3 separate regions of the Homo sapiens genome follow, and all the other regions are linked to region 1. The links are contacts of gene promoters, found by promoter capture Hi-C in human tissues and cell types (Jung and others, 2019). All regions are on one chromosome and are shown on one strand. The core of a region is centred on a gene start or on the middle of the fragment in contact, and the rest is flanking DNA. Distances in the headings are between cores, read along the strand shown.

Region 1 (4,628 bases), core at 1,456-3,955:
TCAGTCTTTGGGTCTCAACTCACAACTAGAAGCCGCCCTCTCAGAGACATTCCCTGATGACCAAATCAGAATCAGCTCCTTCCACCATCCCCCACCTCCCCGGCAAGCAACATACCCCAGAGAAAGCTCATTTCCCTCCTAGCACTTAGAACCTCATGTTGCAGCCTGTCTGTCTGTCTTTTCAAAAGACTGTGAGCTTCACAAGGGCAGGGAGGGCTGTCTGTCCCTCACCACTGAGTCTCCAGAGTCAGGGCAGGCCCCACTACAGAATCGATCAATGAATGAGTGAATGAGTGAATGAATGAATGAATGAATGAATGAATTTTTCATAACTGCTGCTCCAAACCATTCCTCAGCTTAGGTTCCAAGCACAACCAGAATATGACCTCCAGAGCCCTTCTAGACGCTCTGAATCTCGCTGTACTTAAGCATCAGAGGCCCCTCCCAGCTCAAGACTGGGAGCTCCTCCTTCTCCCCACCACAGGCTGGGGTCTCCTCGCATTCTCTTTCAGGGAAGCTGAGAAAGACTATGAAATGTAATCCTGTCTGTCTCCTGAGTTTCTCTAATAAAGAAAACAGGATAGCAACCCCCCTCCCCGCGGCTCCTCCAATCCTCCTTTTCTGCCATAGATTTAAGATTTATTTATTCCCATCCTTCTGACTGTTTCAGCAAGGGCCATGGGTGAGCACCAGCTGGAAAATTACTGCTTCAACTTTCATTGTTTAAAATGCTTAAATGACATGCGAGAAACAGGTTTTTAGGTCTGTGATGCTGAGAAGGGTTGGTAGCAAAGTAAAGCCAGGTTGCAAAGACCTAGAAAATAAGTGCTACAATTTACCAGCTCTTCCATATACCCGGTGCAGGACCCTTGGCCTCAGTTTCTACAGCTGACAGAGAGGGCGATACTGAACTTCAACAGCCTTAAAAGGAAGTCCTGGACAACTGTACCCATTTTTCTGGCGAAGAGTTCTCTTGGTCTTAGAGAAAGGTCTCGCCCCTGAAAGGAAGGCTGAGGTTCCCTAGGGGAGAGTCTGCTCTGCCCTCAGGAGCTGGGTAAGTACACGGAGGGGTGAGCCGAATGGTGAGAAGGCATTTTAGGCTAGGACTCGGTGACCTTGGGCTGCCTGCCTCTAGAGTCCCAGCCCCAGCCCTAGGCCAGACCTCAGCCCTGGGCTGGGAGCCTTTCATTGGTTCCTCTGACAACAGCCAAGCACAATCCTATAGTGGCGTAGGAAGAAAAAGACTGCCACACAATCTCCCCGTGCGGCCAGAACAGCGGCAAGACAGACCTTACAAGGGACTCAGGGCCAAGCCCTGGCCCAGACTCTGCTCTTATCCACGCATCAAAGCCACCCCCCGCCCCGGACTTCCCGGAGGCTACAGGCTCCTCCGTTCCAGGGAGGAGCAGGGCCTGCTGCGAGGGCTCCCCGCCTTCCTGGAGTCAGGCCTAATGGCGGGGGCTTTTCTTTTCACCGGCTTGAGCTGATCCTCACCCCCGCCCCCCAACGCCACCATCATTAACAGCGAAGAAAGGATCCCCAGCCATTTCCATTTCCTCTGCGGCTCAAGAGCCCCGTTGTTATTTAATCCTGAGGCCACCCCGGCAGCATCCTCGGCGCAGCCGGCTCCACCCATCCACCTGGCCAGTTCTCGGCCGCTCCCACTTCCCCGGAGGGGAGGCCGGTGAGAGGTGGGGGATATTGGGGAAAGGCGCCTACAACAGCGAAGGGCCGTGGGCCTTCGGTGGACCGAGGCTCCTCAGGCCAGCGTCCTGTGAGGGCTGGGAAACCGACTGGGACAGAGAAAGGACACCTAGCTAGGGCGACAGAGAGCGGGCAGACGCCCGGGCACTGCGGACATTGCACTGGGGCGGGGGGCGGGGGGAACGCTGGGAGGCGAGGGCCAGGCTTCCTCTGGCTGAGTTGCCAGAATCGCCCCGGGGGGTACTGGAGCCGGAAGAGGCCTGGGCCCAGTCACTGTCTACACCCAAGAAATGGGGGGAGGGGCGGCCAGCACTCACGAGAGATTCAGCCTCAGGAAAAAGAACCAGATTCACTCACCAATCCTCACCCCACCCTTTGATATGAATGATGGACATTTTCCTAATTTTTGGTAAACGCAGCTTCAAGACCCCTCCCGCCTGGCGTCTCTGGTCTAGAGCAAGAGAAGGCCCCCAGTAGGGGTCCTCCCGCCCCCCCTTTTGACTGCCTGCGGGGGGCAGAGATCCCCAGATCTAGGTGTGCCCTCCACCACCCTGCTCTCAACCCGGGATCCGGAGGCCGCAGCGTCCCCCACCCCCCAGCGACACTGACGGTTCCTGCCCAGGCCCGCAGTGGCGTGAAGGTGGCCTTTACCTCCTCTCGCAGGCTGGGAGGGGGTGCAGCCCGCGCAGCTGGCCCAGCTGCAGCAGTCGCCGCCGCCCTCCATTCATTAAAAAAAAAAAAAAAAAGGCAACAACAGCCTCCACTGGAACCTCCACCCCTCTTTGTAAAAGAACGACGGCTCCTGGTGGAGCTTGAGCCAGTCCCAGCAATCACGGGTTAAGATCTTTTCCCGCCCCCCATTCATAAAAAAAGGAGCGGAGCGCATGCGCGCTCAGGGTCTGTTGTGCCCACCCATTCATAGAATCGCGAACGGCACGCGTGCGCACTGGCGCTCCCTTCCCTCCCATTCATAAAAAAGCCATTTTCCCAGGCAGTGGTTGCAACATCGCCGCGGAGGTAGCGAGCTGAGCTGACAGCGCGGAGCTGGCGCTGTGGAGCGCAGGGAGCCTTGCCGGTTCCTCCGACCGGCGTCTGCGAGTACAGCGGCGGCTAACCTGCCCCGGCTTCAGGATTTACACAGACGTGGGGCGATGCTTGTGACCCTGCAGCTCCTCAAAGTAAGTCCATGGCTGGTTTGGAGATCTGAAACTGCCCCTCTCTGAGCCGCGACGCGACTCCCCCCTTGGGCTGGGGCAAATGGTGCGCTATTTCTAGGCGCGCCTCAGTGTTCCTTCCCTCAGCCTGCGCCTCCTTGAGTCGCTGCGGTGCGCCGCAGCTCCCTGACGCCCTCGGCCCGGCCGGCACGGCGCCGGGGGTGTTCACAGCCTGGCACCGCCGTTTCCGACCCCTGGGCATTGCCAAGCCCGGCTTCCCCGCCCTCTGAGACTCGGGAAGCCCCGTGCGTGTCCCGGGAGTTTGCCTCTGGCCTGGCCTCTTTCCTTCTCCTGCCACCATCCGCCTCGAACGCTGGAACGGGCGTCTCTGGGCTTGGTCAGGAGCCACCGTTTGGGTCGGGGGGCGCCCTCGCTCTGGGCGGCTCGCCCACCTCCCAGCTCGGTGCCCACGGTGCCAGCTTTGCCGTGTATCTCCCAGCCCGCCGTAGCGGCCTATGCTCGACGTAGATTTTTTCTTTCTCTTCGGAGCCGTGACGGACTGAATTCCCTCCCCTTCTGCCTCTCCCTCGATGGTCAGCGAGGGGCTGGCTCAGGACTGGGCATTCCTACTCCCTCTCCTTGGCGAGGCGGTTCCTCGCCGTCTGACCTTTGCTCCGCTGCCGCATTTTATGCTATGCAACTGCCTTGCAGTTGACTTTTTCTTGCCTGGCCTCTGTAAGGCCTGAGGCTCCTCGGCCACCCTGTACCTCCCTATCCTCGGGCACCGAGCTGTGCCAGGCCCCGGAGCCCCCAGGCCGCGCTAGGGCTGCGGTGGGGGTTGAAGGTGCGTTTACATAACACCAGGCGTGTGGGAGCTGGAGGAAGAGGTTGCGAATGTAGGAGAGATAAGGCTCCTGCTTTCCCTCCTTCCTTCTTGGTGGTACCAGGCTTGACATCACAGAGAAGAGGATAGAGACGGTATGTTCTGACAAATTCTGAATCGCCAAGACCCCGGGGACAGTGAGCTGGGTGAGGGCGGGTTTGGCTAGCCAGGGCAGCTAGAGCTTGGCTCCATCACTGGGTCCAGGGCTGTGCCCAGTTCCCCCTCCATGCAGACGATCAAAAAGCATTTAGACAGTAGCTGCTCTTGTGCAAGAAGACGGTTTCTCAATTCTCCTTGATTGGGGGCAGGGGGTTGTGGGCAGGAGAGGCAGGGGAGACAGAAAATGGTTGCGTGGCTTATAGGGCTGAAGGATGGGCAAGAGAGGCGAAATGGGCTGGAGGGGCTAGATGGTAGGCAGAGTAGGGAGCTGCTGGCTGCCTCTTTCACCAGCTGCTGGAGGGGCATCCATATTGCCAAGGCCTCTGTGAGGGCAGGAGGCCGCCTTCTGGCGCAGCAAGGCTTCCGTACCCCCCAGCGCGGTTAGTGCTGGAAAGAAGAGTGTACAGTGGGGTGCCCAAACCTAGTGGCATCCCCTTCTTTCCTGCCTCCAAATCAGTGGCGTGATTCTCTCCAGTTTTGGGAGAGGCCAGACACACTGGAGGCCAAAGAACTTGCAGAGGGGCGGGAGCAAGCACTCGTCTGTGTCTGTAGCTGACCGAGGCACTAACCTCCCTGACAAGTCTCTCGGGATTCAAAGCTGGAAGGTATAAGGCTCAGAGAAGTTGGGAACTGCGGGTTTATCAATCTCTTAATGAGCTCAGTCTGGCCTGAGGCCCTACCCAATATTGCACTGGTGGATTTCACAATGTTTGGAGTTCTCCAGATCT
Region 2 (4,628 bases), core at 1,325-3,824, 460 kb before region 1:
TATGCAATGGAGCAGAGCTTCCCTGCTGGGGAACCGATTACAAGCATGCTGGCTACGTAAGAGGAAACAGGCTTTCTTTCCAGAGAGAAACCCATCTTGCTGCTCTAAACAGAGCTGGCAGCATGGTAGTCTGCTGACCTTGCACACTGAGCTCTGGGCAGCTTCGGTCAGAAGGCCGGCAGATTGTGGCAAGTCCTGGCCAGCAGACACAGATGCAGCAGGAGCATCTGGATGCCGAAGCCTACGGATGCTGAGGCACTCGCCTCCAGTGCCTGCCCTGGCCTCCACAATGACATATTGTCCACAGCAGGGGTGGTGTGGCTGATGATCTGCTGGGTAAGTCGCCCACGGTAAAGTCTGTGTCAAACATTTCAGTGCACTAGTCAGATACAAATGCAAGAAAACCTTATTTTTGGAAGAGCAACCCACAGATTTTCTTAAGAAGCAAATAGCAGAGTGAAAGCAGCACTAATTTCCTGGTGGTGACACCCTGGGATCACACCAGCAGCAGCTGTGGTCTGCCCAGTCATCCAGCCCTGCTTTAAAAGGGTGAGAACCAGCTGAGATCAGAACAGAGACAGCAGTATTTGCCAGAAATGAGTTGCCCAGGGGCACCTCCAGGTAGAAGGGGGAGATCAGCTCTCTCTGGGTTTAAGGCATCTCAGCTCCAGAGCCATCACCCAGTCTCTCTCCTCCTCTCCCCAGATCCTGAGTTCCCCTTGCTGTGCAACAGCTCAACCAGCTCATTATGCTTCCTGAATGTTTTTAAAGAAAAAAAAAATGTGAAACATAATTACAGGCTCTGACCCCAAATGACTTTAACCCTGACAAGAGCACCCAAGACTCACTGTGGGAATACAGTTTCCCTGTGATTGCCCAGGAGCAAAAGTTTCCTTTCAGGAGCTCCCCCACATCCGCTGGCAATGCTGCTGAAGGGTTCCCGCTCACAGGCCAAGCTCACGGAACAACTGGATCCCAGGCGTGGAGCCACACTGGCTGACATGTTCTCAAGCTGCTAGAACTTTTACGCTTCTGAAACCCTCCTGCATCATTCCTAGGCCTGCAGTAATGCAAACACCCTCCAGATATCTGAGATGTGCCCACGAGGCTGGAGAGCACAGCTGTGCACATTAAGGAAGAACAGGATTTGGGGACCAGATTTATGCAGAATCTCTGCTGACCTATTTAGACCTAATGTGTGGTCCAAGGACTCCCACCATGCAAATCACTTGGGGTGAGATGGAAGGGAGTGGGGGCGGGGGTATAGGAAATTCGGGTTTCCAGACCTGCCTAGAGCTCATGCATCAGCATTTCCTTGGGTAAAGCCAGAGAATCTGCAGTTAGGGGAATTCTTGTACACCTTCACTTTTAAGAACCACTATCTTACAAGGACACTCTAAAGGCAGATTCCAATAACAGGTCACTTACCACAGGCCTGCTTACACTGCTAAGCATAATATCTACAATTATCTCAGCTGCTCCTCACAATAATATTGTAAGGTATAATAGATATTTATTATCCTCCCTTGCACTTATGCTGTTTTCTCCAGTTTCATCTCCAAAGGTCAAATCCAAAGGCCTCCAAACAGTCCTCACCTAAACTGGCCAGGATGAAACATCAAGTCATCAAAGCCTCTCCAACTCTCTGCTACCCACCTGCTAAATGTGGATGCTCCCTATGGTTTCAGCTTCCACTCTCTTCTCTCACTCCATGCCAGGCGTTCTTCACCCTTGCTGCACATTAGAATCACCTGGGGAGTTTTTAAAATGTCCCATGCCCAGACTGCAACCCAGCCAAATTATATCAGAATCTCTGAAGGTGAGTCCTGAGCTCCTCAGGTGATTTCAATGGACAGCAGAGGCTAAGGACCCCTGCGTGGGTCTCACTCTTATAGATTCAGTCACTCCCAGGGCCTCAAATACCACCTGGAGAGAGCCAAACCTATACCTGTAGCCCTCATCTTCCTCCAGAGTTCCAGACTTGTGCTTCCCACAGCCTTGTGGGTGTCTCCACCTGCATGCCCTGCAGGAACTCAGCAAGGACAAACCTTACTTCACTCTGTATCCCCCATCACACACCACGATTCCTCTCCTGTATGCAGTTCAGCCATCCTCCCAAGGCCTAAGAAGGAAACTCTGGAGATGCCCCTAACTCCTCTGTCATCCCTTCCTCAGGCACTATGCTGCTGACTATGTGTTCTCTTCATCCACACCTGATCATCTACTCTCAAAAACACCATGAATCGGCCAGGCGCAGTGGCTCATGCCTGTAATCCCAGCACTCTGGGAGGCCAAGGCGGGCAGATCACGAAGTCAGGAGATTGAGACCATCCTGAGTAACACGGTGAAACCCCATCTCTACTAAAAAAAAATACAAAAAATTAGCCGGGCATGGTGGCACGCACCTGTAGTCCCAGCTACTCAGGAGGCTGAGGCAGGAGAATCACTTGAACCCGGGAGGCGGAGGTTGCAGTGAGCCAAGATAATACCACTGCACTCCAGCCTGGGCAACAGAGAGAGACTCCATCTCAAAAAAAAGCCATGAATTCTGCATTCCACTCTATAACTTATCAGTGTTTATTTGAATATTCAAATTGTGATCCCACTGAGTAAAACAGATTTTCAGCAGACTGTATTCCCTGGCACACAGCCTCCTGCCCCAGACACCTGCACCCAAGCCTAAGGAGTGCATTGCTCCCCTCCCTTTTCCCCCAGGTGTGATGGGCAGATGGTGTCCATTCTCTCACATACTTCTGCCTTGGGACAGTGTTAAGAAGAGAATGACTCTCATAACACTGGTGAAATATGGGATTATTTTAGGCAATACAATGACAAATACTTTTCAATGTAATGATTATGATTTAATAATTATTTGAAGATATTTAGAAAAAAAAAGTTAACCATATCAAACTTGCAATTTCTGAATGCAGGTTCAAAAGCTCCTTTTTGAAATAAATGTATTTTGTAATGAGTAGACTTTTTTCAAAGTAAATAAAGGGTGGTGAGGTGGGGCAAAAATAACAGAGGTACCCTTCACATGACTGATCATTAGTGACCACACTGCCCCCTTGGGCTCGATAAGCCTTCAGTTGCCTTTCCCACAGGCCTCTGCTCCCTCCCCCAGAGGCCCTTTTAAACTGCTAGCAATCTCCCCTTTGTGCTGTGGGCTGCCTGTTTCCCTGCCTCCTCTCAAAACAGTGAGCATCTAGGAGACAAGGACTGTGCCTGCTTCATGCCAGGAACCTGGCCAATGTAGCCTTCTACATCAACAGGAGCTGGAACAGAGATGGCAGAGGACATGTGGCATGATCCTGTCCTCTATCAGGGAAAAGTGCTAAGCTCTGCAGGAGAAGCTGCCAGAGAGAGATGTCATGCAAAACTCCCGACTCCCTCACCAGCTCCCAGGAATTCCAGTGCCCACCGGGAAGCTTCTATGATAGGCAACGTGTCCCCTAGACCAGAGTCACGGTCTCCGGTCACAGAAGGCAGAAGACTGCCCTCCTTCAACAAACCTGCCGAATCTCCTGAATGTTACACGCACCGCACAAAGATAAAAACTCAACAGCACCATCACTAGGAACACAAACAAGGTCTCTGGGATCCTACATTCAACTGATTTCTAGGTACAGCTGTCTCAGTTTAGGGAATGATTTTTGCTGTGGCTTTTAATCCCAGAATTAACAATACACACAAACTGGAAAGGGGAAAATGGAGAAAATTCTAAGTATTGTTTTATTTACAGAGACCATTCTGTAATAAACTGTCTAAAATGGTGAGTTTCCTTCCTACTCTAAAATCATGGTTTATCAAATTCAGTTCACTTAGAACTTTTCAGAAACACTGTTATGAAATACTTATTAAAATGAAAAATGTACATACCCTTTGGTCCAGCAGTTTCATTTCTAGGAATTTGTCACTCATGTGCCTCATGCCAGAGGTGCCAGGATGTTCACAACAACATTACTTGCAATGGTGAAAGGTTGGAAATAATCTAAATGTTTATTATTAGGGGAATGGTTACATACACTATATTTAATTCATACAATAGAATACAATGCAATCTAACAATGAGTGAGCTCTCTATGTACCAATGTAGAATAATATCTAATATATTAAAAGCAAAGGGTAAAACAGCACATATGGCACAATGTGTATGTGTATTTGTTGGCACATGCATAAATTACATCTGAAAAATACCAAAGAAACCAATAAAATGCCTCCAGAGGAAGAAGTGGGGATCAGGAGACAGGAAGCATTGGAGGGATATTCACATTCTCTTTTGTCTCTTTTGAATTATGAACAACTTATAGGTATTACCTATTTAGGCAACCCTTTTAAAAAGAAACATAGCTATGAGTTAAAGTAAAAATGCCTTATTTTATTTGTTCGACTAATATTCATTGTCTACCCCTGACCCACAAGTGTGATAACGAGATACGCAGTCAGGAATTTGCTAAGGCTTTGGTCCTATCTGTTTGACAGTCTCCTTGGCACAGAAACAGCCAAAGTTCAACTCAGTCAGCTTGGAGATCTATCTGAAGTCTCAGAGGAGGAGGCAGTTCATATTTTCAAAGTGTTCAAATTAGCCTGCAGTAAACTTAAAAGCAGATGTGACAGCAAGATCAGAT
Region 3 (4,628 bases), core at 1,357-3,856, 340 kb before region 1:
TTTGTCTAACTATGGGAAATACTCAGAAACATCTTAGTGTATGTGCAATAGTGTGCTCTCAAAACCGAAATGGCCCTAGAGATCACAGATAACACATGTGATTGTAAGGCAACCCAACATCGGGCCGAGACATTAATTGCAGGGCAAAACCCCTGAAGTCCAAATAACTGTGAGGCACATCGTAATTTCCAAATAAATGATTGGAAGTGGTAGCATCTACTGCTGTCAGGTTTTTGTGGGGTTTTTTTCCTAATTTCTTCATATGCTTTGCTGGCGTTGGTTGAGTGCCTTCTGCATGTAAGAATCTATACCATGGGAGATTCAAAGATAAAACATGTTCTCTGCTCTCATGCTGTCATGTGTGAGTGGATGGGGGCCAACAACTCAATTGTAGAAAGAATGAAGTAATGACTAGGCAAAGCACCACACCGTGGGTCCTTGAAGGAAGGACCCTACTGACTGGAGAGACCAAGGAAGGCTTTGCAGTGGAGGTAGCATTTGACATAGGCCTTGAAGGATGAGGAGAGTTTTAATTAGCAGAACATTGAGCAAAATGGCCTTCCTAGCTGAGGGAACAGCAAGAACCAACATAGGAAGGCATGGAAGTTCTTGGTGTGCAACAGGGGAGAGGGAGCAGCTCAGATTGCTGGGATGTGGAAGGACGTAGTGGAAGGTGAGGCTTTTCACACCAGATTTGAGGTCACTTGGCCAAGGACTTTGGCCTTCCTAGCTGGGAAGTAGGAAACAAGGGAAGGTTTCTGAGCCAATGGTTGGCACATGCAGATCTTTCTTGAGAAGCATGACCTCAGTGCCAGTGTGCAGAAGTGACGGGAACAGCAAAGCTGTGGGGCAGGAGATCAATCCCGAGGCTCCGGCACCCACTTTCCACTCTGGTTAACCTCTTTGTAGCTTCGGGCAGTGCAGACCAGCTGACTTCTCCCTTGAAGGCTGTGATCCTGTACTTCTTGGCTCTCCTCCTGACTGTGCCTCTTCTCCCCAGGATCCTGGGGTTGCTCCTCTGTGGTAACCGGCTGCACTGGGGATCTCAGAGTGTGGAGTGACCCCCAGGGTGGCTGCCGCTGTCTGCTTCGCTCTTCAGGCTCCAGGCTGTTCTTCCTTGCAGATCTCATCTTTCCCCTCTGCTCTGCTTCTCCTGTGCCTGCCTCATATTCTGGGTTCTCTCCAGAGCTCGCGTCCACTGCCTGCCAGTCAGCAGATGGATGACTCTGTTCACCTCAGCCGCGACACGCCCCACAGCGAGTGCAGCAGTCGTCCTGCCAGATGGGCTGCTCCTGGCTGCGTCCATTCTCTCAGTAAATAGCCTCTCCATTCATCCTTCCGGTCCCTCTATGCCCGAGTCACCTCTGATTACTCCTTTGCAGAATCCTCTTCATTCTTCTCCTGGAGTGTCTTTGGAGCCATCTCTCCCTTCCACTCTCATGGCTCAAGTTTAGGATCTTTTGTCTATTTCAATTCAACAGCCATTTATTGAGCCCCAGGGGCTGTGCTGGGGACATAATCGTGAGAAGGAAGCTCATGCTTCTGTCCTCGACTGGCTTGTAGTCTAGTCAAGAAGACTTGAGGGCTGATGAGCTTTTCAGAGATGGAAATAGAGGATACTGTGCCCCGTGGCCTCTGCTCTGCCCAGCCCCCTACCAGTAACCAACAATTTTCCAGAAGAATTTCCAAATTCCCTTCTCCAAAGTCTCCACTGGCTCCACTTTCATTTGCTTGCAGAAAAAAGTCTAAATGCTTTGGAACAGCATCATTCAAGGTCCTCTATGATCTGACTCCAAGCTAGCTTGCACTAACCCTGTGTGTCCCTGAAAACCCCCCGCTCAGCGGCATCAGCCATGCATGCTGGGCGAAGATGCCCTCTACTTGCCCACCCCTGGGCCTCTGTTCAAGTGATTCCTTTATTCCATGCCCACATATGTAAAACCTGTTTGTCCTTCCTGCTGAGATGCCACATCTTCCAGAAAGTCCTCCTGACCCCTTCCTCTTCAGCCCTCCATCCATCCCCCCAGCCCTTGGCACAACCTTCACAGCACTTATCATAGCTTGTCATGGTATTTATGACTTAGCTTCTCACCTTCTTTCAAGGACAGGAAGCTTATCTCATTCATCCTGAATAATCACAACAAAAATAATAGCTAAAATTATGAGATGTTAGAATGCATATTTTATTTATATGAGGCAATGTGCTAGGTGCTTCCCTTGCACTATCTTGTTGCAACCTTTTGACAAACACGTGAGGTAGGTATATCACTGGCCTCCTTTTATAAAGGAAGCTCAGAGAGATGAATTGACTTTCTGGACTTAAGTTCAGGAAGCTTCACTTCAAAACCCATGCCCTTGACCATGACTTCACCTTTATTACCTAACTGTGTCTGGGTGAGTTCCTTGTATATAAGTCCTTACTGGGGCCGGGGCAGGGAGGGGTGTCAAGAGGATGGGACAGTGAAGACAAGAGCAGCCTCCCCAAGGTCATGTGACAAGTCACGGTCACATAAACATCACGAATGCGGGAGCTTTAGCGACCACATTTTCTCCTACACCTTTTACCTAGGAAATGGAAGTCACAGTTTTCAAAGGGAAACTAAACGTTTTTGACTGTGCAAAGGATTAGATGACAGTATGTTGAATGCAAATTGATTGAGTCTGATTTAATTTGGATGGTGATGTGCCAAGTCACACAGCCCTGTTGGACCAGGTGCCTGAAGCAAAGAACTTTCCTTGCACCCAGCTACCATGGCCTCTGCCTGAGCCTGGGAGGAGACATTTAACAAGGGAAATTCCTTCTCCCTCCCTCACTGGACTGAACCTGTCCCTTTTCTTAAAGAAAGGGAGTGGCGTGGAGCCCAGGCCCTCCCCCAGGGGCCTGCCTGCTCAGCTCCAGACAGGTCTGCCTTTGTGAGCAGGGGTGGGCTGGCGGGCAGGAAGGCTCTTGGACTGCAAGACCGCTGTGGCATCCCAAGTCAGTGGGAGCGAGGCCAGAGGGGACAGTCAGGATGGGAAGGTTGAGAAAGGGAAGACAGTCACCGTCAGGCTAGCCAGGGCGCTTCCTCCATTCCTTTCCAGGGCATGAACAAGACAGCATGTGGATGAGGCTGGAAGTAGCCCCAGGGAGCCTGGAGGAACAGAGTCCAGAGTTCGGAATTTTCAGAGCCCGCCGAGGCCTTCAGCATATTTAGCATGGGACATTTGGTAGTGGGAGGACAGCCGCTCCTGTCATCTTCCCTTTCTCTCTCCCCATCAGCCTGCGAGGGACTAAAAGCCGGCGATTTTTCCTTGCTGTATTTCTTTCTTTTTTTTTTTTTTTTTTTGAGACGGAGTCTCGCTCTGTCCCCCAGGCTGGAGTGCAGTGGCCCGATCTCAGCTCACTGCAAGCTCCGCCTCCCAGGTTCACACCTTTCTCCTGCCTCAGCCTCCCAAGTAGCTGGGACTACAGGCGCCCGCCACCGCGCCCAGCTAATTTTTTGTATTTTTAGTAGAGACGGGGTTTCACCGAGTTAGCCAGGATGGTCTCGATCTCCTGACCTCATGACCCGCCCACCTCGGCCTCCCAAAGTGCTGGGATTACAGGCGTGAGCCACCGCGCCCGGCCTGTTTCTTTCTCTTTTTTCTTGAGACCGAGTCTCGCTCTGTTGCCCAGGCTGGAGTACAGTGGCATGATCTCAGCTCACTGCAACCTCTGTCTCCCAGGTTCAAGCAATTCTCCTGCCTCAGCCTTCCGAGTAGCTGGGACTAAAGGCTCCCGTCACCACCGTTGCCCAGCTAATTTTTGTATTTTTAGTAGAGACGGGGTTTTACCATATTGGCCAGGCTGATCTCGAACTCCTGAACTTGTGATGCGCCTGCCTTGGCCTCCCAAAGTGCTGGGATTACAGGTGTGAGCCACTGTGCCCGGCTTCTTTTCTGTTTTTCTTTCTTTCTTTTTTTTTTCTGTCTCTTTCTTTCTTCATTTTTGTTTTTGTTTTTGTTTTTGTTTTTTGAGACAAGGCCTCACTGCAGTGGCACTATCACAGCTCACTGCAGCCTCAAACTTCTGGGCTCAAGAGATCTTCCCACCTCAGCCTCCTGAGTAGCTGAGACTATAAGCACTCACCAACACACCTGCCTAATTAAAAAAAAAATGTAGAGATAAAGTGTTGCCGTGTTGCCCAGGCTGCTCTCAAAATCCTGGCTTTCAGTGATCCTCCTGCCTTGGCCTCCCAAAGTACTGGGATTGTAGGCGTGAACTGGTATACCAGGCCTCTTGCTCCATTTCTTTACTTGGCTTGAGTTTGGCTTCTCTTGTTATAATGTAGACATCTTTATATGCCACTTTGTCCTCCATATCCTGGCTGAAATGCTACGGTTTTTTTTGTGGGGAACATGTCAGAGGATACACAGACTGGTGAATGGACAGACTGATGAATAAGTAAATGTTGGGATTCTTGTCTAACACACTGTGCTTTCTAGACTCTGACTCAACGACACCACACTGCTGCTGGATTTCATGAAATCTTACACCCCATCCTATCCAGTACATTGTATCATGTCTTTAAGAAATTTAAAGGAGCAGAAACAAGTTTTAAAAAGCTAAGATTGTGTGTGTGTGTGTGTGTGTGTGTGTGTGTGTGTGT

What was found. Contacts are between HindIII fragments. The study calls those that stand out against the background at their distance.
Region 2: a fragment that was not itself captured here is called in contact with the fragment with the promoter of SPRY4 in region 1 in 1 of the 25 tissues and cell types used here (H1 embryonic stem cells).
Region 3: a contact is called between a fragment that was not itself captured here and the fragment with the promoter of SPRY4 in region 1, in 1 of the 25 tissues and cell types used here (IMR-90 fibroblasts).

Annotation. Positions count from the first base shown.
Region 1 is chr5:142,323,098-142,327,725 of GRCh38, reverse strand. It overlaps SPRY4 (sprouty RTK signaling antagonist 4), which reads left to right and starts at 2,705. Exons shown (of 2, transcript NM_001127496.3): 1 at 2,705-2,882. It overlaps SPRY4-AS1 (SPRY4 antisense RNA 1), which reads right to left and starts at 2,433. Exons shown (of 4, transcript NR_120664.1): 1 at 2,356-2,433. RefSeq lists enhancers at 3,239-3,298, 2,780-3,742, 3,743-4,628. The HindIII fragment of the contact is 10,639 bases long and covers 1-4,628 here.
Region 2 is chr5:142,779,632-142,784,259 of GRCh38, reverse strand. The region is part of intron 1 of ARHGAP26 (Rho GTPase activating protein 26); the gene reads right to left. Among named protein-coding and RNA genes, the nearest start is that of ARHGAP26, 12 kb to the right of the region's middle. The HindIII fragment of the contact is 8,142 bases long and covers 1-4,628 here.
Region 3 is chr5:142,666,284-142,670,911 of GRCh38, reverse strand. The region is part of intron 1 of FGF1 (fibroblast growth factor 1); the gene reads left to right. Among named protein-coding and RNA genes, the nearest start is that of FGF1, 17 kb to the left of the region's middle. RefSeq lists enhancers at 731-1,230, 2,458-2,965, 2,966-3,474. The HindIII fragment of the contact is 5,123 bases long and covers 45-4,628 here.